Linked DNA regions of Homo sapiens: all the other regions are linked to region 1. The links are contacts of gene promoters, found by promoter capture Hi-C in blood cells and fetal thymus (Javierre and others, 2016). All regions are on one chromosome and are shown on one strand. The core of a region is centred on a gene start or on the middle of the fragment in contact, and the rest is flanking DNA. Distances in the headings are between cores, read along the strand shown.

Region 1 (4,043 bases), core at 174-2,673:
CTAGAGGCATCATCCCATCTGATGGATGGAGAAACTGAGCTCAGGGAGGCTGAGCCAGTGCTATCAGAGGTGGTGGTGCCATTGGGAGGTGAGGTGCAGCCTGGCTCACTCTATGGCCTACAAAGTTCAAGGGGATTTTTACACTATTAATTGTCTTCAGCTGCAAGTAACAAAAAACCTGACTGGGGCGCCTTACAGATTAAAGATTAGCTCAAATCCAAGGTTTCTGGAGGTGAGGGCCTTCTGGGGGCAGTCCCATTGCTCTGCAATCCTCCCCAAAGTGTTTCCTCTTGGGTGGCTATTTCAGAGCCTGGGTGTGCCCCCTCTCTCTAAACCCTGGGCATGCATAATGGGCACTTGGGAGCTCAACTATTTCATCTGCAGCAGCTCTCATCTTATCACCCCGTCAGCTGTAAGGCAGACATCAGTGAGGGTGGTGATTTGCGGACAATCCCTGACTCACCCCATTTTGCCAGCCTGCCCTGGGCTCAGGACTTCCTGCTGCATCTTCTGCTGAGCCGGCAGGGCGTGGCGTCTCAGGGCTGGGGCTGGGGCTCTAGTCCAGGGCTCTTCCTAAGGTGGTACCACACAGTGCCCCCAGCACCTGCCCACCAAACTGGAAATTCCAGAAATATTCTCGACACCGTCTACTTTCCAAAGACTGGGTGTGGCAGATGAGGAAGCTGAGGCTCAGCGAGTTGGGGGGTCTATTAAGGTCCCTCAGCCCCTGAAAGGTGGGGTCAAAATTAAACAAAAACTGGGCCTCAGACTGGGTTTCCAAACACCCCACTCTGTGCCTTGATAATCCTGTTTCTCTCTCCATCCATTCCCATTCACTGAGCCGGAAGCCTCCATCTTCAGAAGGGGGTTCTCTGCCCCAAACAGCGTCTAATCTGGAGACTTGCGGTGGTGGCGGTGGTGGTGGTGGGGGCAGTGCCGGGGCCTCAGGCTGTTCTCCCTCATCTTGCTGCCTGCTCACCTTGCCTCTGTGTGCTCACAGCCCCCCAGAGCACAGCTGTGTCTGCTCCCAGACTATGGGCTCCTTGAGGGCAGGACCTGGTTTGGGTCCCAGAGCAGCCAGGGTTTGATGAATGACAGATGCCCTAGACCTGGGTAAGCCCCTCCAGAATGACTTGCTAGTGCGGGGTGGGGAGTCTGGCATCTCTGGGCCCAGCCTGGAAGGGTGCTGGACTGGCTGGCGGGTGACACACCTGGGGTTCCTGGGCCCCTCCTGGCCACACTGTCAGTGGGCCTCAAGCTCCCTTAGCATATGGCCTCTGGAATAAAGTGAGCCCGCACCTCGGGAGGGGGCAAGCAGAGGCAGGAGCAGGATGGCAGGTGGCAGGCGGGGCTGCACAGGGGAGCACAGCAACTCCACTTCCTGTGGGCGAGGGCCCTGTGCCTGCCCCGGGGGAGGTTGCACAAACCTTCCTGCGCAGGCCTCGGGCTGCCTGCCTGCCTGCCTGCCTGGCCCGGCCCGAGCTCCAGCCTGCCTCTTCCACTGGCCACTGCCTCCCACCCAGGGCTGGCATCCCTGCTCCCTGCCCTGGGTCCCAGACTGTGTCCTCCATCACCGCAGGGTCGGTGAGGGGCTGGGCTGGACACCAGGGCCCGCCCTCCCATCACTGAGCTCCACTCCTTCCTCATTTTGCTGCTGATTCTAGCCCCAAACAAAACAGGTTGAGCTTTTTCCTCCCCTCAGAAGCTCCTCTCTGGCTCGTGGCTGCCTTCTGAGTGTTGCAGACGGCGCCGGCCGGGAAGGGGGGCCTGGGCCAGCCCTGCCAGGACTGGGACGCTGCTGCTGGCGCCTGGCCCTCCATCAGGCCAGCCTGTGGCAGGAGAGTGAGCTTTGCCGCGGCAGACGCCTGAGGATGATGCCCCAGCTGCAGTTCAAAGATGCCTTTTGGGTGAGTGAGGATGGTTGGGGGCACTGAACAAGTGGAGGGGGCAGAGCTAGGCTGAAATCTCCATGCAGGTGATGGGATGCGGCTCCGAGAGGGGAGCTTTCTCATAAAATAGTGGTTGATTCTTGGTCTTAATTGTCATGGAGGTGGCCCAGGCCCCCACCCCTTCTGGACTGGAACGCAAGTGGACTCCGTGAATGAGCGTCCTCCTCTCTGCTGCCCCGTGTGTTTTCTCCTCTGGGAGACCTCTCCCCACAGCAGGAGCTCCTCAGAAGAGGGTAACACATGGGTGGGGGCTTGAGGAGGATGTGTGGGGCAGCAAAGGAGGGGTCACAGATTTAGAGACCAGACAAACTTGAGTTCAGGTCTTGGCTCTGTTACAGGCTGGGCAAGTCATTTCTGTCTCCAAGCCTCAGTCTCTCCATCTATATAATGGTGATAAAATAGAAATCAACACACCAACTAAAGCATTGGATCAGCAAGGGGATCCAAGGCACTAAAGCCCCCAGCACCTTGCCTCACTCCAAATGGTAATTCTGTTCCCCTCACCCAGCCCCTTGTCCCTTGCAGACCTTAGGGGTCCTTCAAGGAGGCAGCCAGGTGGGCAATGGCTTGCTTACTTTCTTAAATTCAACACGGGCTTAAATCAAGTCATTTCCCCCATGAAATAAGGGCGCCCAGCCAGTGGTAGAGGTAAAGTGGCTTGGCCCGGGCCACGTAGCCTGCAGCCCAGCTTGGACCCCTGGTCATCTCAGCACTTTTCCAGCTGTCCTTCAACTACCCCTCTGCCCCTCAGCTCTGGCTGTGCCCAGGGCTCTGGGGAAAAACTGAGACCTCTCTGGTTGGAGCTGGGGAATGTGGCTGTCCCGGGGTGCTGCCTCCAACCCCGAAGAGGACGCTCTGGCCCTCGGCTCAGCCGGCTGAGCCCCAGCCAACAGCCCTGCCCTCCCCGGGCCTTTTCCTGGGGCTGCAGCCAGGAGGATGAGAGCTATGGAGCCAGGCCTTCCTTCCCTTCCGGCCGGCTCCACTTGGGGCCTGTGGCCAGCGTGTGAGTGTTCTGCTTCCTCTGCTCTGACTGTACAGTAGGCAAAGGACCCCACGTGGGGAGGGCACCTTGTGCCTTTCTGGGCCTCAGTTTCCCCATCTCTACAAAGACAGGGTGGGCCCAGCCCAGAGAAGCCAATGGAGGCAGAGCTGCCTCAGCCCATCCGGAGGACCAGGCACCAGGATGCTCAGGGCCCAGGCTGGCAGCTGGAGCCCTGGGGGATGGGGGATGTGAGTCACCACCTAGCTGCCCTGCCTTGGTGTGCAAAGTTGGGGGAAGGGGTAGGGCCTGGAAACCCAGGCCACTCTGTAGCCCAGGGCAGGCCAGGACCCCTTGACTATTTTATCACTGAGACCTCTGTCCAGTCCTAGAGCCCCTGGGCCTGCCTTCCCTAGGGCAGAGCTGGGCAAGGAGCAGCCTCCATGGCAGGATCTGGGCACAGGTAGGGGTGGCGTATAAGGGAGCAGGGTATGGCAGCCGCAGCAGAAGCAAGCAGCCAGCCCCTGTGGAGCTTCCTGAGCGGCATCCTGCCCACACTCTGTGCTCGTCGCACCTCTGGGCTTCCTGGCCTCCAAGTGCCTTGTCTCCTCTGTGTCTGGCTCCCTGAGCCTGGGGCGGGCATATAGTTTCCCTAGGGAAGGCCAGAGCAGGAAGGGGAGAGAAGTAGCCAGTGGGAACCTCTCACACTGAGTCTGGGCCGATGCCCCGAAAGGTCACTGTAGGCATCACCTGCCCCAGGGCTCTGGATTCTAATACCTCTTCCTGATGCTCAGCCCATCCCAGTGCATAACAACTAACATTTGCTGAGCACGAAAGATGTGCCAGGCGCTGTTCTCAAGATGTATGCATATTCACTCATTCAATCCTTCAAACACATGCTACTGTTATCTCTCTTATTCAGATGAGGAAATTGAGGCACGGAGATATTAAGAGACTTGCGCAAGGTCACACTGCTGGGATTAAACCCCTGGCAGGCTGGCTTTAGCACTTGTGTTGTTGCAGGATCCCTCTGTCTATCTGACATATCACTGGATCTTTTGGCTTCGGGGTAAGATAAGAGGTAACCCCTCTTATCTCCCAGAGGGGTAAGAAAA
Region 2 (4,043 bases), core at 1,004-3,503, 510 kb after region 1:
TTCTTCTCCCTGCGCTGGATTTTTCTCTTTGGAAGCATTAAGGGAGTGCATGTGATACATTTTACTCACGGGCCAGCTCTTGCTCAGCTAGTTTCAATCTAGGCACGTCTAGAGCTCACGTTGAAAGTCCATTGTATTTAATGGGGTGTTAACTCTGTTTATTCTCTGGGGCCTGTGCAGTAATTTTACACTCTGCAAAACTAGCAACTTGAACCAGAAATGATATTCCTCTTTCCCCATGCCCACCCCAGTGGGCTGCAGTCCCCAGGCACCTCTGGCCCTGCTTCCCAGGGTTCCTGTAGCTCAGGTAGCCGAAGAAGTTCTGCATGCCGTGGGAGATGGGAACTCTGGGGTTCACATCCGGTTCTGCCGCTTGTTAGCACTGGTGCAGCCTGAAGCAGGTCTCCTCAGCTCCTGGAGACATTTTTCACATCTGTGAAATGAAGATTTTAATCTGCCCCATGTATCTCAAAAGGCATACAACAATCTCATAGTGGAAAAACATTTTCCTGGGTTCTACAAAGACACCGTCCTATTATTCCCAACTGGGCCACTTCAGCATCACCTCGGAAGCCACTTAACCCCTTCGGATCTCCATCTCTCCACTAAAACCTTGGGGATTTGAATAGGACTATAAAATCCACTAATCAGTCTGAATCTTCACCATGCTGTTGTGATTTTTTTATAAGTCCATTATTCCTTCCACCTTTATTGGCTGGCATTCTACTCTTGGGAAGACTTTCTTGTCTCCCCACTTACTTATTCTCAGGGCCTGGCCCTAGAAGGTGCTGAAGACTTCATATAGGACTGGATGACCCCTTCTAGCTCTCAATCTCCAAGTCTCCAGGAAAATAAATGAAGCACATACTATTCTAATACATTCTACCATTCTGTGGGAACTGTGCCTTCCGTTATTCCCACCTGATCTAAAATCCCGACACTTAGGATGCTCAAACATCATCTGGACCTTGGCATTCCTCCTCCAGTGCCAGGCCTTCCCTCCTGCATAAAACAGCTCAGAGCTGAGTCGCCCTTGCTGGAGTTCCTGATCTCTCTTTCCAGCTCCCTCAGGGCTTCTCCATCTGGCATCCTGCAGAATCCTCAACTCAATTTGTCCAAAATTAAATATGTATTCTTCCCAAACCCACATTTTCTCTAATACCTGTCAGCTCAGTTAAAAACTCCACTGCTCTCTGAAGCTGGAGAGCCTGGAATCCTACACGCCTCTCCCCAGCTCTTTACCCTGCTCCCAGCCCTCCACATCTCATTCACAGAATGCTCCCCCCCACACACACACACAGAGCCCTGGAATCCCCCTAACAGCTGGCCCTTCTCAACACCTCCAGGACAGGCCTTTGTGGGGGTCTTCAGCTTTCAGCTCTCCTGGGGCTCTCCTAATAGCCCATTGTTTTGTTTTTCCTCTTTTTTGCTATTAACTAGTTCTATAATAGCCTTCTAACTAGACTTAGTATAGCCAGTCTCATTTGTCCCCCTCTTAACTCCCCTCCACCAGTTCGTCCTGCACACCACTACAAAAGCAACTTTTCTAAAATGCAAGATTAGTCTTGCAAATATCTTTTTCTTTTCTTTTTTTTTTTTTGAGACAGGGTCTCACTCTGTCGCCCAGCCTGGAGTGCAGCAGCACGATCCTGGCTCACTGCAACCTCCGCCTCCCAGGTTCAAGGGATTCTCCTGCCTCAGCCCTCCCTAATAGCTGGGACTACAGGGGCACACCACCATGCCCAGCTAATTTTTGTATTTTTAGTAGAGACAGGGTTTCACCATGTTGGCCACGCTGGTCTTGAACTCCTGACCTCAAATGATCCACCCGCCTCGGCCTCCCAAAGTGCTGGGATTACAAGCGTGAGCCACTGCGCCCAGCCATATCACTCTATTTTAAATGAGATCATAGTTGTGGTAGTTGCTTTTGTTTTTAAGCCTTACAAAAATTCTATACGATAAGAATTATTAGCATGAAACTAAGATGAAACTAAGACTTAGCTAGGTTAAAGGACCTAAAGCCACATAGCTATTACACCTTGCAGAACCAGAATTTGAACTCAGGTCTGCTTTGTACTGCAAAACCCATGTTCGAAAGTATTTAAGGTACCTGGCACAGAGCAGGTGGACCAATGTTATATTCTTTATATTCCCCCTTTTCTATAAACTTCAGTCTCTTCAGCAGGGTGCAAGGGCCTATCCCATAGTGGGTGGCGTATGTCTCCAAATGCATCTCCTGTTACTGTGTGGCCCATTATCACCACTACCCATTAGGCAACATCAGACCACTCGCTGTTCCCCAAACCCTCCCTGTTCTTTTTTTTTTTTTTGAGACAAAGTCCAGCTCTTGTGCTCTTGTCTCCCAGGCTGGAGTGCAATGACACGATCTTGGCTCACTGCAACCTCCGCCTCCCGAGTTCAAGCGGTTCTCCTGCCTCAGCCTCCCAAGTAGCTGGGATTACAGGTGCCTACCACCATGACCGGCTAATTTTTATATTTTTAGTAGAGACAGGGTTTCACCATGTTGGCCAGGCTGGTCTTGAACTCCTGACCTCAGGGGATCCACCTGCCTTGGCCTCCCAAAGTGCTGGGATTACAGGCATGAGCCACCGCGCCTGGCCCTCCCTGTTCTTTTTTAAACTTTCTTTTTGAAATCCTCTTTCCTACTGCTTGGCAAGGCTTTTCTTACCTTGTCCTTCCTGCTCTGCAAGCCCAGATCAGATAGCACCCATTCTGTGATGCTTTTCCTGATCCCCAAACTCAGAATTCACGGCTCCAGCATCCCTCTTGCCAGCACCACTTGTTACGTATGCCTATTCTGATACTGATCATATTGGTGTGTGGCTATTCAGTCCTGTCTCTTCTCATCTTTGTATCTCCAAACCTGGCACTGTGCCTGGGACAAAGTAAGCACTCAGTAGTAAGTCTGTTGAGTTTAGTTCAGTCCTGCATCCTTCCCTATGACTAATGCTTCATTTCATCTGTCTTGCAAAGGTTAGAATGTCTCTGAAGACTTGTTTGCATCACCTCCACTCTCTCTGATTTCCACACCCACCACCCCATTGAAGTTGCTCCTGGCAACTTCTTGAGAGATCTCCTCATTACCAGAACACTCTCTTGTCCTCAGCCTCCAAAAGTTGCAGCAGCACTGGGCATGATTTCCTCCCTTCTTTTAAGTGACTCCTCTCCCTCGGCTTCTGCCATCACAGTCTCCTGCTTTCTTTTGCCTCTCAGGCTCTCTTGGGACTCCATCTGAGCCCTGGAAGTAGAGAACCTCAGAGCTCCGACCTGGGTTGCATTCTCTTCCCTCTACATTCCTTCCTGAAGAGACTTGTCTATTCCCATCATTTAAAGCAGGACCACTATCTTCAGCTCTCAGCTCTAGATTCAGATATGTGACAGCTATTTGACATCTCACTTAGATCATCCTTAGGTACTTTGGGCTTGAAAGCCTAACAATTGACTCCCAGGTGTACCCCCAGACCCTTCCTCCTTCAGTCTTTCTCTGTTCACTAAAAGGCAACATAACGAAGGATCCCCTTCTTGGGATGTTGGGAGCCACTCTCTAGGAGGGAAGGTGCCTTAGAAGAGGGGGCAAATCTGGGGATATCTGAATATCATGCATTCCTACCTCTGACTTAACCTTGGAGAAACACCAGATGCCTTAACCATGTATTCAATGCCTGGCATGATCTGGCCCCAGCATCCCTTTCCAGGCCCAGCTTTCATCTCGCCCCTAGATCAGAAATGGGTGAAGTATGGTCCATGAGCCAAATCTGGCCCATATGTTTCTCTACCGCCTGTAGGCAAAGAATAATTTTTTATATTTTTAAGTAGTTGAAAAAAATCAAAAGAAGAATATTTGGTGACACATGAAAATTACATAAAATTCAAATATCAGTGTCTATAAATAAAGTTGTATGAAATACGGCCATGCTGGTTTATTTACTTATTATCTGTCTCTGCTTTCTAGCTACAAAGGCAGAGCTGAGTCGTTGGAACAGACTTATAACCTACAAAGCCTAAAATATTTACTATCTGGC
Region 3 (4,043 bases), core at 871-3,370, 480 kb after region 1:
ACTGGGCACCAAGTCATTTTTGTGTTCAAAGATTTAAAAAACTAGTGGAGGCTGGGCACGGTGGCTCAAGCCTGTAATCCCAGCACTTTGGGAGGCCAAGGCAGGTGGATCACCTGAGGTCAGGAGTTCAAGACCAGCCTGGCCAACATGGCGAAACCCCGTCTCTACTAAAAAAATACAGAAAATTAGCCAGGCATGGTGGTGGGCACCTGTAATCCCAGTGACTTGGGAGGCTGAGGCAGGAGAATTGCTTGAACCTGGGAGACAGAGGTTGCAGTGAGCTGAGATCGTGCCACTGTACTCCACCCTGGGCAACAGAGAGGGACTCCCTCTCAGAAAAAAAAAAAAAAAAAAAAAAAAAAGCTAGTGGTGACAAGAGTAGGAAAGATACATTCTGTCTAGCTTTAAACAATTGTTTATAGGAATGAAATCTAGGTATTATGTTTGCATGTTTTTCATGTTATAAAGGTCCTGGGATCTTAAGATTTCACTAGCAGTTTCTTCATTTCTCACTTCCTGCCATTTTACCACCTTTGTTATGGAAAATTTTGAACATTATGCCAACACACTTAAAATTAATATTCACAATGCTTTCAACTTCAAATTCATTTTAGAAACGACAGCCAAAGCATCTTGAGTTATTGACTTTATTCTTAAAGATCATTGTGGAATATATTTTGCAATGATCTTGTGAGGCTTTTTTATTTTTAATGGCTTATTGGTGAATTAATTTTAGGCTTTGTTATTCTTTTGTATCTCACATAATCGTTTGCTTTCTAATTTTTAGAGCCTGGTTATTTCTGATTTCTCGGTCTCATGTGTTTGTTTGTTTATTTTTCCTGTGTCTAAAGAAAATCTAAAAGACCCCAAAGATAGGCTGCCTCTCTTAAGTAAATAGAAGTACCAATGGAATATCATAATTATTGCTCATAGCAGTTACATTTCTGCTTAAAATTCTTATTGTCCACTCTGCAAATTTATATTGCATAATCTTATCTCAGGGAGCATTTTACATGCATAACCAACAAAAGTGACTGAAAAAAAACTACTCTTTCTCAATTCCCACTGCAATCACTTTCACAACTGTATACTGTTGACTATTCAAAACACAAGGCTAAGAAATGGCTTCAAATTCTCCATTAGGGAAATTTACGTAACTTTGTTTTAAGGTTTCTAATTGCACAGTAGTTGTATACCTGAGAGAAGTGAATACTTTACCTGCTTAAGCTCTGTGAAAGTTGGATTCCAATGAAAAGATGAATACATTTCCCTCACAGACTCACCTGGACTGATTCCTGCTCACCCTATTCTTTCTTTAAAGAAGACATGATCATTGTCTTCAGGCACTATTATTTAATTTATCTTCTATTAAGAATTAACTGTTTTGTTCCTCTTGATTCACAGAAAGAAACAGAGGTAAAGGAACGGTCTGTTTTTGACATCCCTATATTTACAGAGGAATTCTTGAACCATAGCAAAGGTGATTACTGAAGTTTCTTTTTGTGTTTCTCAGATTTTTGACAGGGGACTTAGTTCTCAGAAGAAATTCATTGCTCAAAAGCAATGGTAGTGTTATCCCTCCTTAGGACTACTCAAAGACCAGTGAAGGAAAGCTAGGGCATTGTTGTCAAAGCTTCTTTGGTCTCTGGATGAAAGGAAATAAATGCAAATCACAAATTCACTTGTCTTCAAACTCTTAGCCTGGAACCCCTTGCACAAATAAAAACTTACATGGGAGTCCAAAATATAAAATAAGTAAGAGCAAGTCTGATCCCATTGTGGTAAAGATGGGTACCTACAGCTGTGCTTGGCCAGTCTCCCAGGATCCCCCTGCAAAACCCCTCAGGCTTCTGATTGTACAATTTAAAAAGCAAAAACTAACAAACAAAAAAATACTGGGAATTGAAACTGTTTGTTGCAATCTTATGTATGGAATGTGACTAGCTTTAAGAATTAAAATAGCTCTGGGGAGTCAGGCGTTTCATTGCTGAAATTGCTATCTGGAATGCCATAATGAGAATAGGGAGATGAGGTGGGGTAGCTAAATTAGAGGCAGCTAAGCAGAACTTCCCTGTAAGAGTCATTGGGACTCCTCAGAGACTCCTTCTAGTGCTGCATGTGTTCTGTGGGATGTATGTCCTCAGCTCGGGAAGCAGAGCTCCGCCAGCTTCGCAAATCCAACATGGAGTTTGAGGAGAGGAATGCAGCCCTGCAAAAGCACGTGGAGAGCATGCGCACAGCAGTGGAGAAGCTGGAGGTGGATGTGATCCAGGAGCGGAGCCGCAACACAGTCTTACAGCAGCACCTGGAGACCCTGCGGCAGGTGCTGACCAGCAGCTTTGCCAGCATGCCCTTGCCTGGTAAGTCCTCCTGCCTGAGAACTGTCAGTGACAGGGGTGTGTGTGTTGTGTGGAGTGGGGTGCTGTTTATGTTAGTACTGGTGTGGAGAGATTGAAATCTCCTCCAGAGGAAAATTAATTAAACTACATTTTTTCTTCTCTGGATATAATAGAATGTCAGTATTGGCTAAAATCGTCCAATGTTTCAGGCTCTCTGGTCATTCAAATTTTTGTCCATTTATATTTTAATATCTATTTTCCCCTCTTTTAAGCTTAATTTGCTATTCAGAACACTGGAAACTGAGTAGTAAATCTTGAGAGTGTTTCTTCTTATGTATGTTTGTTTGCTTTTTAGTTGTTTTTGTTTTAACGGGAAGGAAGGGAGAATGAACACTGGTATTTCTTATATACTCTTTCATTTTGAAGATAGTCATAGCAGAAAGCTGAGCGAGTCTAACCTTCTGTTACATGCAGCTGCTCATATATACTATACAGCAATTATATAGCCCATCTGTTTATTTAGAGTATGTGGACTAATTTCATTTCTTTGAGATCTAAAAGTCTCTCCTCTAAAATTAAAAGCATGTCTGTGGAGCAGACCACATTAGAATCACTGTTTCTTTGAAATTGTGTTTTATGGTACAACTGAATAGGGAGGATTTTCTTACTTTCTTCTTATCTCACTTCAGGAAGTGGAGAGACACCTACAGTGGACACCATTGACTCATATATGAACAGACTGCACAGTATTATTTTAGCTAATCCCCAAGACAATGAAAACTTCATAGCTACAGTTCGAGAAGTTGTGAACAGACTCGATCGTTAGGGAATGGTGAGTGCTCACTGATAAATATTTATATGCCAGCACATCATCAAAAATAAGATGTCATCAGACTTTATCAATACTACTAAAACCCTGGGATTACATTGGATGAACAAGTTGGAGACTTGGTTAAGATTCCTGTTGCATGGTTGTTAAATGTAGTAAATAATATTAGAAAAGAGAATCACTGTAGTCCCAGCTACTTGGGAGGCTGAGGTGGGAGGATTGCTTGAGCCCAGCAGTTCAAGTCCAGAGAGATCCTGTCTCTAAAAATAAAAGAAAACAGACTCAAGACAGTTTTTTCTTATGCTTGCTTCAGAATGGTTTAATGGGAAAAGCATGGTTTTTGTGGCTTGACCTCATTTCTAGCTTTGTCACTTATTAGCTGTATTCTTGGGCATTAGTTTCCCAAAAGGTTTTGAAAAGTGAGTGGGAAACTTAGAAGAAATCATCCCCAAAACAGCACTCAGAACAAAATAAATATAACTTAATTTTTAATCTTCCTTTTCTCTGGAAAATACTAATGATAATTTAGAAGTAGTCAGTGAGACATTGTATGTATGTGAGCCTACATAAGTAGGAAGCTTTTATATTCACCACTCAATAACACAGTGACTGTTGTCTGTTAAATGTTGATGTGGACTCACCATACAAACAGGTAACTCCCTGGTTTTGATAGATTAAAAAATAAACTCTTCAGCCAGGTGCAATGGCTCACACCTGTAAGCCTAGCAGTTTGGGAGGTCAAGGCAGGCAGATCGCTGGAGTCCAGGTTCAAGACCAGTCTGGGCAACATGACAAAACCCCGTATCTACAAAAAATACAAAAAATTAGCCAGGCATGGTGGTATGCGCTTGTGGTCCCAGCTGCTTGGGAGGCTA
Region 4 (4,043 bases), core at 581-3,080, 460 kb after region 1:
TCACCAGATAATATATCTTCTTTTGAGGCATGGGAGCAATGCCAGGAGCTTTAAATGCTGAATCTCAAGGTTCTTGAAAGGCCATTGACTTCTAGGGATACTTTTAGAAAGAAGCCAGTCAATCCCAGGCGTAGTGGCTCACACCTGTAATCCTAACACTTTGGGAGGCCGAAGTGGGCGGATCACTTGAGGCTAGGAGTTCAAGACCAACCTGGCCAACATGGTGATACCCCGTCTGTACTAAAAATACAAAAATTAGCTGGTGTGGTGGCACGTACCTGTAATCCCAGCAACTTGGGAGGCTGAAGCACAAGAATCACCTGAACCTGGGAGGCGTGGGCAACAGAGCGAGACTGTCAAAAAAAAAAAAAAAAAAAAAGCCAGTCAAGTGAGTTCCCTAAGGTATATACCTGGCCATTTGAATGTTTGCTCACTATGGTTAGTCTGTATGGTATCTAACAGATATTACAGTTTTCTTTTGGTAAAATGAACATTGACATTGGTGTGAGGTGATGTTAGCAGCCCAGGCTTTAATCTCGCCTTTGTATTGTATAATGTGAATTAAAACTTAAGTACACTTGAGTCAGGGTTATTCAGTAAAACATGTGGAATGGAATTTTGTGGTATTTATTAGAGCTATTCCACTTGTAAACACCTTATCTTGAAGGAACTGAAAAGAGGTTGCAAGCATTCCTGCAGTAGAATAAAGTGCTTATGATGGTTGAGTGAGAAGTTCCTCTCTACCTTCCATGCTCTACCTACTGTAATGGGTAATATTTGTACAGAGATGTGTTTTTCCCATCAAGCTGTTTATGGAACTTGGCCTGCTAAATAATAAACTTAGAAGTGAGAATAAGTAAGAATAAGGAATAAAACATCAGTGTTATCTTTTGGAAATAAATCACTCCATTGAACATGGAGAATGTGGTCCTCGTGTCATCGGCATTTTCTTCATATTTCCACCTCAGTGGAGTGATCCTGGCTCTGCTTTGCCGCTGTGCTTTCCTTTTAATTGCTGTTTCACCAGGTCTCCTTAGCAGCAGCAGCGCCTGAAATAACTCCTGAGGAAGCTCCTAAGTGAATTCTCATAATTTGCTTCTCAATTCTCCCAATTGATTGAGGCACTCTTTCTTGAGTGCTTTGCAGTTCTGTGTAAGTGGCTGATGTTTGGGGTCACTGCTGAATGTTTTGTTTGAATATCCCTTTCATGATGAAGGGAAGACTGCTGCTTTTAACTACATGGGGTGATGCCCTTTGTGGTAAGCCTTGAAAGGCAAAAATCGTTTTTCATAGTGATATGCCAAATGAAATTATTCTCTTTGTCACTTTGTCCTTTTATCCTTTCAGTCTGATAACCTCAGTTCTTGTGATTTGTTTGTTTTCTTCAATTAAGCTTAGTTGTTTCCTGTACCCAGGTGCATGCTATTTCTGCTCTTGGTTATGATGGTGTGTGGAGCATATTTCTGACCTGGAAGTGTGGTTTCTTTGACTGAGAGCCACATCAGCATGCCTTCCATCCTCTACTTCCTTTGCATTATTTCCTTTTGGAGGGCTCAGTTTGCCATCATTTAATCTATAGATGATTCATCTGGGACTGAGAACTGGTAATGCTGTAATAACAATATCTTTCTTTATATAATACTCAATGCACTTACTACCTTAGATTTTCTCTGTTTATGGAGCACTTTCATTTTAATCTCTCACAATAACCCTTTGGGTTAAGTCAGCAATTTTGTCTTAGTCTAAGATGGTGAAATTGTAGCTCAAAGAGCTTAAATAGCTTGCTCAGAGTGGCAGTGCTTCTGAGTTACCCTGCTTAACAATTTCTACAGGAAATGAATACTTTTGAAGATACTCTGGATAAATAAAAAGGAATTTTCCAAACCACATCCCATTTGTTAAAACCTAACTTGTTTTCAGTCTGGTCAGTTGATAAGACCAAGGTTAAAAGGCCCATTTACCATACAGTTTAAATTGATGTGTCCAAGTCAAGAAAATAAATATTTAGGTCAGTTTTTATTCTGTTGCTTATATGATAAAGTTCAAGAAGGCTGGCTCTTAAATTAGTGGAACTTGAAATGGAAGTAATTAAGCCATTAATTTTTTTTTATTCTCTTTTCCTTTCAGAGAGATGGAAAACTTGATGACTAGCTCCACCCTACCGCCCCTTTTTGCAGATGAAGACGGTTCCAAGGAGAGTAATGATCTGGCTACCACTGGGTAAGCAGCTGCTTTAGGACACTGGACTTCTCCATAGGCCTCAAAACAAAGCTTCTAGCAAAGTAAGAGGTCCTAAAGAGGCAGTTTTATATCATAAGAATAGACGGTGCACTTGTTTCACTTTGCAAAGAGAGTGACAGCCATCATAAACCACTTTGTAATCTGCATTCAATTATCTTTTGCAGTGCTCTGGTTTTTGTGAACTGGTACAACAATATGTGGAATCTAGCAAACACTGGTGACTCCAGTTAAGAAAATTATATAGTCACCATTAAGGAAATACCTGCCACAGAGCTAGCTCTAAAAAACAAATGCATTTTTTCTGTTCAAATTACCACAGATATTAAAATAGTTTTTTCCCAAAGATCAGATTTTTTAATGTGGTTCTTTATTCAAGATGCTTAGTAACTTTAGCTGACTTCTGTTCCTTTCCCCATCCCACCCCCTTCTCCTTTCTGTGGGATCTTTTGACAAATATTTAAAGAGATATAGAAAAGGGTTAATAACAGTAGTCCACCTCTTCCCTTGAAAATCTCTGTTCCACTTGAATTTTTATCTTTTCTAGATGTTTAGAAGTTATTTGGCAAAGAGAAAGTGTGTTCACTAATAGACTGAAGTGCTAGCTAATCCCTAAGATGAATTATTTTAATATTCTTTAGAGCTGTTTAAAAAATAGGCTATACTTTGTAATTCTGTTTCCTTCCCTCACATTTATGTCTCACCTCGTTGATATCCGCCTTTGACCTCACTACTCAGATGAAAGTGTTCTCCAAGACTTTTCTAAAGGCTGCTTAGTTACTATATTCATTCAGTAAAAACTTTCTGAGTATCTGCTATGTGTCATTGTTCCAGGCATTAGATAGAAAGCATTGATCAAAATAGATAAAAATCATAGGCCTTTTAAAGTTCAAATTCTACTTGTTGAGTCAGACAATAAACAGGATAAATAAGCAAAACATATACTATGTTGATAAGAACTATAGTTTAAAAAAAGAAAAAAGTGGAGAAAAGGGATAGGAAGGGTTTGGGGATGCAGTTTTAGACAGGATGGGCCAGAAAGTGTTTAATGAGAAAGTGACTTCAATAAAGACCTGAAGGAAATAAGGCAACTGGCATGCAGTTTTCTGGGGAAGATTATCCTAGACAGAGGGAGCAGTAGGTGCAAAAGCCCTGAGGCAGGAGAGTTTCCATCTTATCGAAATAGCCAGGAGGACAGTGTGACTAGAGCAGCACATAGCAGCAGGAGAGGCAGTAGAGGACTACATCAGTCCTTCTCAAACATATGAATTGCCAAGAGAGCTGATGAAAATGCAGATTCTGATTTAGAAAATCTTAGGACCAGAGATTCTACATTTCTAACAAGCTCCCAGAGAATGCCAGTTCTGCTGGTATGAGGCCCATACTTTGGGTAAGAAGAGACTAGATCATAGGGATCAAAATATTTAGAGATCAAAATAAACCCTTTAACTTTTACTCTGAAGTGGGATAACATTGGAGGGTTTCACACAGAATTATATGATCTGACTTACGGTTTTATAAGATCCCTCTGACTGTTGTATTGAGAATAGAGTGAAGGGAGCAGGGGCTGGAACAAGGAGACCAGTTAGGGAGGCTCTTAAAATAATTCAGGAGACAGATGATAGCCTGAAGAACCATCATCTGGTGACTTTCACAAGAGTGTTTTTGGTGGAATAGTGGGGGTAAAAACCTCATTGGAGTGTGTTTCAAAGATAATGGGAATGAGGGGTAGTGAGAAGTATAGAATTCTAGATATATTTGAAGGTATACCAAACAGAATTTGCCTGAAAGAAAGGATGAGCACA
Region 5 (4,043 bases), core at 404-2,903, 410 kb after region 1:
AACAAGACATTTGCACAGGCATGTTTATAGCAGTACAATTCGCAATTGCAAAAAAATATGGAGCCAGCTCAAATGCCCGAGTAGATAAAGCATGATATATATATATATATATACACATATATATACACATATATACATATATACACACATATATACACATATACACACATATATACACATATATACACACATATACATATATACACATACACACACGTACACATATACACATATATACACACATATATACATATATACACATACATGCATAGATACACATATATACATATATACACATATATACACACACATATATACATATATACACATATATACATATAGACACATGTATACACATATATACATACACACACACACACACACACACACACACACACACCCTGGAATACTACTCAGCCATAAAAAAGAACAAAATAATGGCAGTGGCAGCAACCTGGATGGAATTGGAGACCATTATTCTAAGTGAAGTAACTCAGGAATGGAAAACCTGAGAACTTACAAGTTTTCACTTCTAAGTGGGAGCTAAGCTATGAGGATGCATAGGCATAAGAATGATAAAATGGACTTTGGGGACACAGGGGGAAGGGTGGGAGGGGGGTGAGGGGTACACATGGGGTACAGCGTACACTGCTTGGCGATGGGTGCACCAAAAATCTCAGAAATCACCACTAAAGAACTTATCTGTGTAACCAACCACCACCTGTTCCCTGAAAACCTATGAAATAAAAATTTAAAAAAAAAAACAGTCTAGGAATACTGCTGCAGAAACAGTTTTTCAAATGAAGTAGAGAACTGGCATTAGAAGATATTTTCTACTGTTTCTCCAATGCCTTAACTCTTCTTTCACACAAACCTCCACAATTAAAAAACTACTTCATACTCAAATAAAATCTACAAATATTGTAGCACGCCTAGAAAGAAGGCAGTTTTTCAGCATTTGAAATATTCAACTAATTATTCCAAAATATTTAAGAATTGAAGCAGGATGTGATGGCTCATGCCTGCAATCACAGCACTTTGGGAGGCTGAGGCGGGAGGATCACCTGAGCCCAGGAGTTTGCAATCATCCTGGGCAACACAGGGAAACTGTCTCCAAAAAATAATTTTAAAAATTAGCCGGATGTGGTGGCATGCCCCTGTGGTCCCAGTTACTCAGGAGGCTTAGGTGGGAGGATCGTTTGAGCCCGGGAGGTCAAGTCTGCAGTGAGCCATGATCATGCCACTGCACTCCAGCCTAAGTAACGGAGTGAGACCCCATCTCAAAAACAAACAAACACAAAAATATTTAAGAGTGGTACCATGGCATCTTCCCTTGCGATAACAAAACTGAATCTACTTTGAAAATTAAGAGGGGACCCTAACTTTAAACAATAAAAGTGCTCCTGTCAATGTGGGTGAAAGTATAAATGTACTGGGAAAATTAAAATCTTTATTTTTAAATGGAATATTTCTATCATCTTTTATATTATTTAGCACACACATGATACTATGCTTCAGGCATTATTTTAAGTACTTTTCAAATATGAGCTCATTAAAAACCCTCTGAGGTTGATGCTATCACTTCCCCCATTTTACACATAAGAAAACTAAGGCACCAGGAAAGAAAGTGATTTTCCCAAGTGGTAAAGATGAGATTCAGCTCCAGGCAGTCTGGGTCCCAAATCCATGTTCTTAACCACAATGTTGCTTACTCTCAGAAAGTAACATGCTCATGAAAGCCCAGTGTTTGACGCATAGTTAAGCATTTAATAAAAATCTGTTCAACAAATAAAAGAAAAAATGGAGATGGCAAAAAGCAGAAAACCCATTACTCACTGTCTCAACATATCATTATGAGTATAGTGGTATACTTTCTGTCAGTGTTTTTTCTTGTTCACAGAGGGATTTGTTTTCCTTTAACACTCAGCATATGCAATTTTGAGAAAATAAAAAACCTTAAGATACTAGCCTCTTAGCATTTTTAGAATAACAGTTAAAAACTGAACACTTGTATATATGCATGACATATATTCTAATTTCACCTCACAACCCCATAAAGTAAGTACAAGTATTATCCTTATTTTACAAATGAGGAAACTGAAGCACAGTTAAGAAACTAACATAAAGTCACATGGCCAGGAAGTGGCTGAGCTGGTAAATTCAAATCCAGGCAGTGTGACTTCTGAACTAGAATTCTTGACTATTCTTGGAGGGCAGGTTATGAGCTACTTGAAAGACAGTAATCGTGGTTTTTTTGTTTTGTTTTGTTTTTTGGTGTGTGTGTGTGTTTTTTTTTTTTTTAGACAGAGTTTCGCTCTTTTTGCCCAGGCTGGAGTGCAATGGCACGATCTTGGCTCACCATGATCTCGGCTCACTGGAACCTCTGCCTCCCAGGTTCAAGTTATTCTCCTGCCTCAGCCTCCTGAGTAGCTCCTCAGCCTCCCAAGTGATTCTCCTACCTCAGCCTCCCGGGATTACAGGCATGCGCCACCACGCCCAGCTAATTTTGTATTTTTAGTACAGATGGGCTTTCTCCATGTGGGTCAGGCTGGTCTCGAACTCTCGACCTCAGGTGATCTGCCTGCCTTGGCCTCCCAAAATGCTGGGATTACAGGTGTGAGCCATCGCACCCGTCTGTGATCATGTTTTTACAAAGTGGTATGATTTGTTTGGCTTGGCCTAAAATGAGGATGTTACCTTACAGATTTATTTTGTTTTACACTAACTCTGACTTAAACAATGAAAATTTTTAATATCTTCAGCTTTCTTGAACAAGCTAAATAAATCTTCATGTCTTAAATTTTATAAGGGTAAAGTACCTTATTGAAATCTTTCATTCAACAAATATTTGAATATCCACTACTTGTTAGGAACTGTGCTAATAAGATACAGTCTTTGCACTCAATGCATTGGCTCTTTCCACTCAGCATATAAATATGCTCAGATTTCTCACAACTAATAAATACAACACACTGGTCCATAAACCTGGATAATAGCTTTGTCGACTATTCGGAGGTAGAAATAAGAATGGAATCCTGCAATTACCTGCCCCCTATCCTACAAAGTAGATACACCTGTTATTTTTCTTGTAGTTCCTGAAGAGTGACTGACACTTAAATAATTACTAGATAGGTGCTATTTGCCTGCCTCATGCCATACTACCACCTCTTATCAGCTGGCAATGAAAGCCTACCTATTTTTAATGCAAAGGGGTTGAAATTAAAATGTTTTACTAAAACTTTGGTTTACCAGGCTACATGTTGTAATTATTTTTAAAATTCTAAAATTGTTATTTTGGGTTTGACTTTAATAACCAGATGATAAATGTGAATGTCTAAGACCACATGTGAAAGAAATAGTTAAAAAAAAAAAAAGGTGGGGCAAATTCACGGCAGATGGTAAGGCCAACCCTGCTTGATTTACAACCCTGCTTGTAAATGGAAACATTTGATTGTATGCAGTCTGAAGTTAAATCCTATTGATTGTGAAAAGGTAGCAGAGAGCCAAAAATTAAAAAGTCGAGGGCAGCAGAAACACTCCTCATCAGTTCACTGAGTGGCTTAATTGATAGCCAATGACTACAGGCACAATTAACAACCCAAGACCTAATAATGGAAAGGAAGTAAGAACAGAAACAACCTCCGAAACTAATGTTAACATATGGAGAAACTTCTACTGGTTGATAATTACTAGTGTGTACATAAAGCCTTGACAAGTTTCTTGACGCACACATGCTTACATCGGTGTTTAAATATAGCTGACACATATTTGAGTTCATAGTTTCTCATGTCCACATTCTCTAATAAGCTTCATTAGTACTTCATACCTTTTTTTTTAAATACAGTCTTGCGATGTCACCTAGGCTAGAGAGCAGTGGTGCGATCATAGCTCACTGCAGCCTTGAACTTCTGGACTCAAGTAATCCTCCTGCCTCAGCCACTTAAGTAGCTAAAACAGGCATGGGCCAGCACACCCAGCTAATACTTTTTTACTTTTTGTAAAGATGGGGGTTGGGGGTGGGTCTCACTACCCAGGCTGGTCTC

The links. The method cuts DNA at HindIII sites, captures the fragments that hold promoters and counts their contacts. A CHiCAGO score of 5 or more calls a contact.
Region 2: a contact is called between a fragment that was not itself captured here and the fragment with the promoter of PSTPIP1 in region 1, in 8 of 17 cell types (monocytes, naive CD4 T cells, total CD4 T cells and 5 more). The highest score is 8.3, in monocytes.
Region 3: a fragment that was not itself captured here is called in contact with the fragment with the promoter of PSTPIP1 in region 1 in 7 of 17 cell types (naive CD8 T cells, naive CD4 T cells, naive B cells and 4 more); the score reaches 8.8 in naive CD8 T cells.
Region 4: a fragment that was not itself captured here is called in contact with the fragment with the promoter of PSTPIP1 in region 1 in 7 of 17 cell types (naive CD4 T cells, total CD8 T cells, total CD4 T cells and 4 more); the score reaches 9.9 in naive CD4 T cells.
Region 5: a contact is called between a fragment that was not itself captured here and the fragment with the promoter of PSTPIP1 in region 1, in 1 of 17 cell types (monocytes). The highest score is 5.2, in monocytes.

Annotation. Positions count from the first base shown.
Region 1 is chr15:76,993,703-76,997,745 of GRCh38, forward strand. PSTPIP1 (proline-serine-threonine phosphatase interacting protein 1) reads left to right here and starts at 1,424. Exons shown (of 15, transcript NM_003978.5): 1 at 1,424-1,907. The coding sequence starts at 1,872. RefSeq lists an enhancer at 1,129-1,178 and a silencer at 1,419-1,608. The HindIII fragment of the contact is 6,151 bases long and covers 1-4,043 here.
Region 2 is chr15:77,498,248-77,502,290 of GRCh38, forward strand. It overlaps a transcript of HMG20A not described here. Among named protein-coding and RNA genes, the nearest start is that of HMG20A, 79 kb to the left of the region's middle. The HindIII fragment of the contact is 5,925 bases long and covers 1-4,043 here.
Region 3 is chr15:77,476,151-77,480,193 of GRCh38, forward strand. HMG20A (high mobility group 20A) reads left to right here. Exons shown (of 10, transcript NM_001304504.2): 7 at 1,405-1,480; 8 at 2,145-2,360; 9 at 3,029-3,171. The coding sequence ends at 3,165. Among named protein-coding and RNA genes, the nearest start is that of HMG20A, 57 kb to the left of the region's middle. The HindIII fragment of the contact is 978 bases long and covers 1,632-2,609 here.
Region 4 is chr15:77,456,277-77,460,319 of GRCh38, forward strand. HMG20A (high mobility group 20A) reads left to right here. Exons shown (of 10, transcript NM_001304504.2): 2 at 2,128-2,220. The coding sequence starts at 2,132. Among named protein-coding and RNA genes, the nearest start is that of HMG20A, 37 kb to the left of the region's middle. The HindIII fragment of the contact is 878 bases long and covers 1,392-2,269 here.
Region 5 is chr15:77,407,789-77,411,831 of GRCh38, forward strand. All of the region lies in intron 1 of PEAK1 (pseudopodium enriched atypical kinase 1), which reads right to left. Among named protein-coding and RNA genes, the nearest start is that of PEAK1, 10 kb to the right of the region's middle. The HindIII fragment of the contact is 4,304 bases long and covers 1-3,805 here.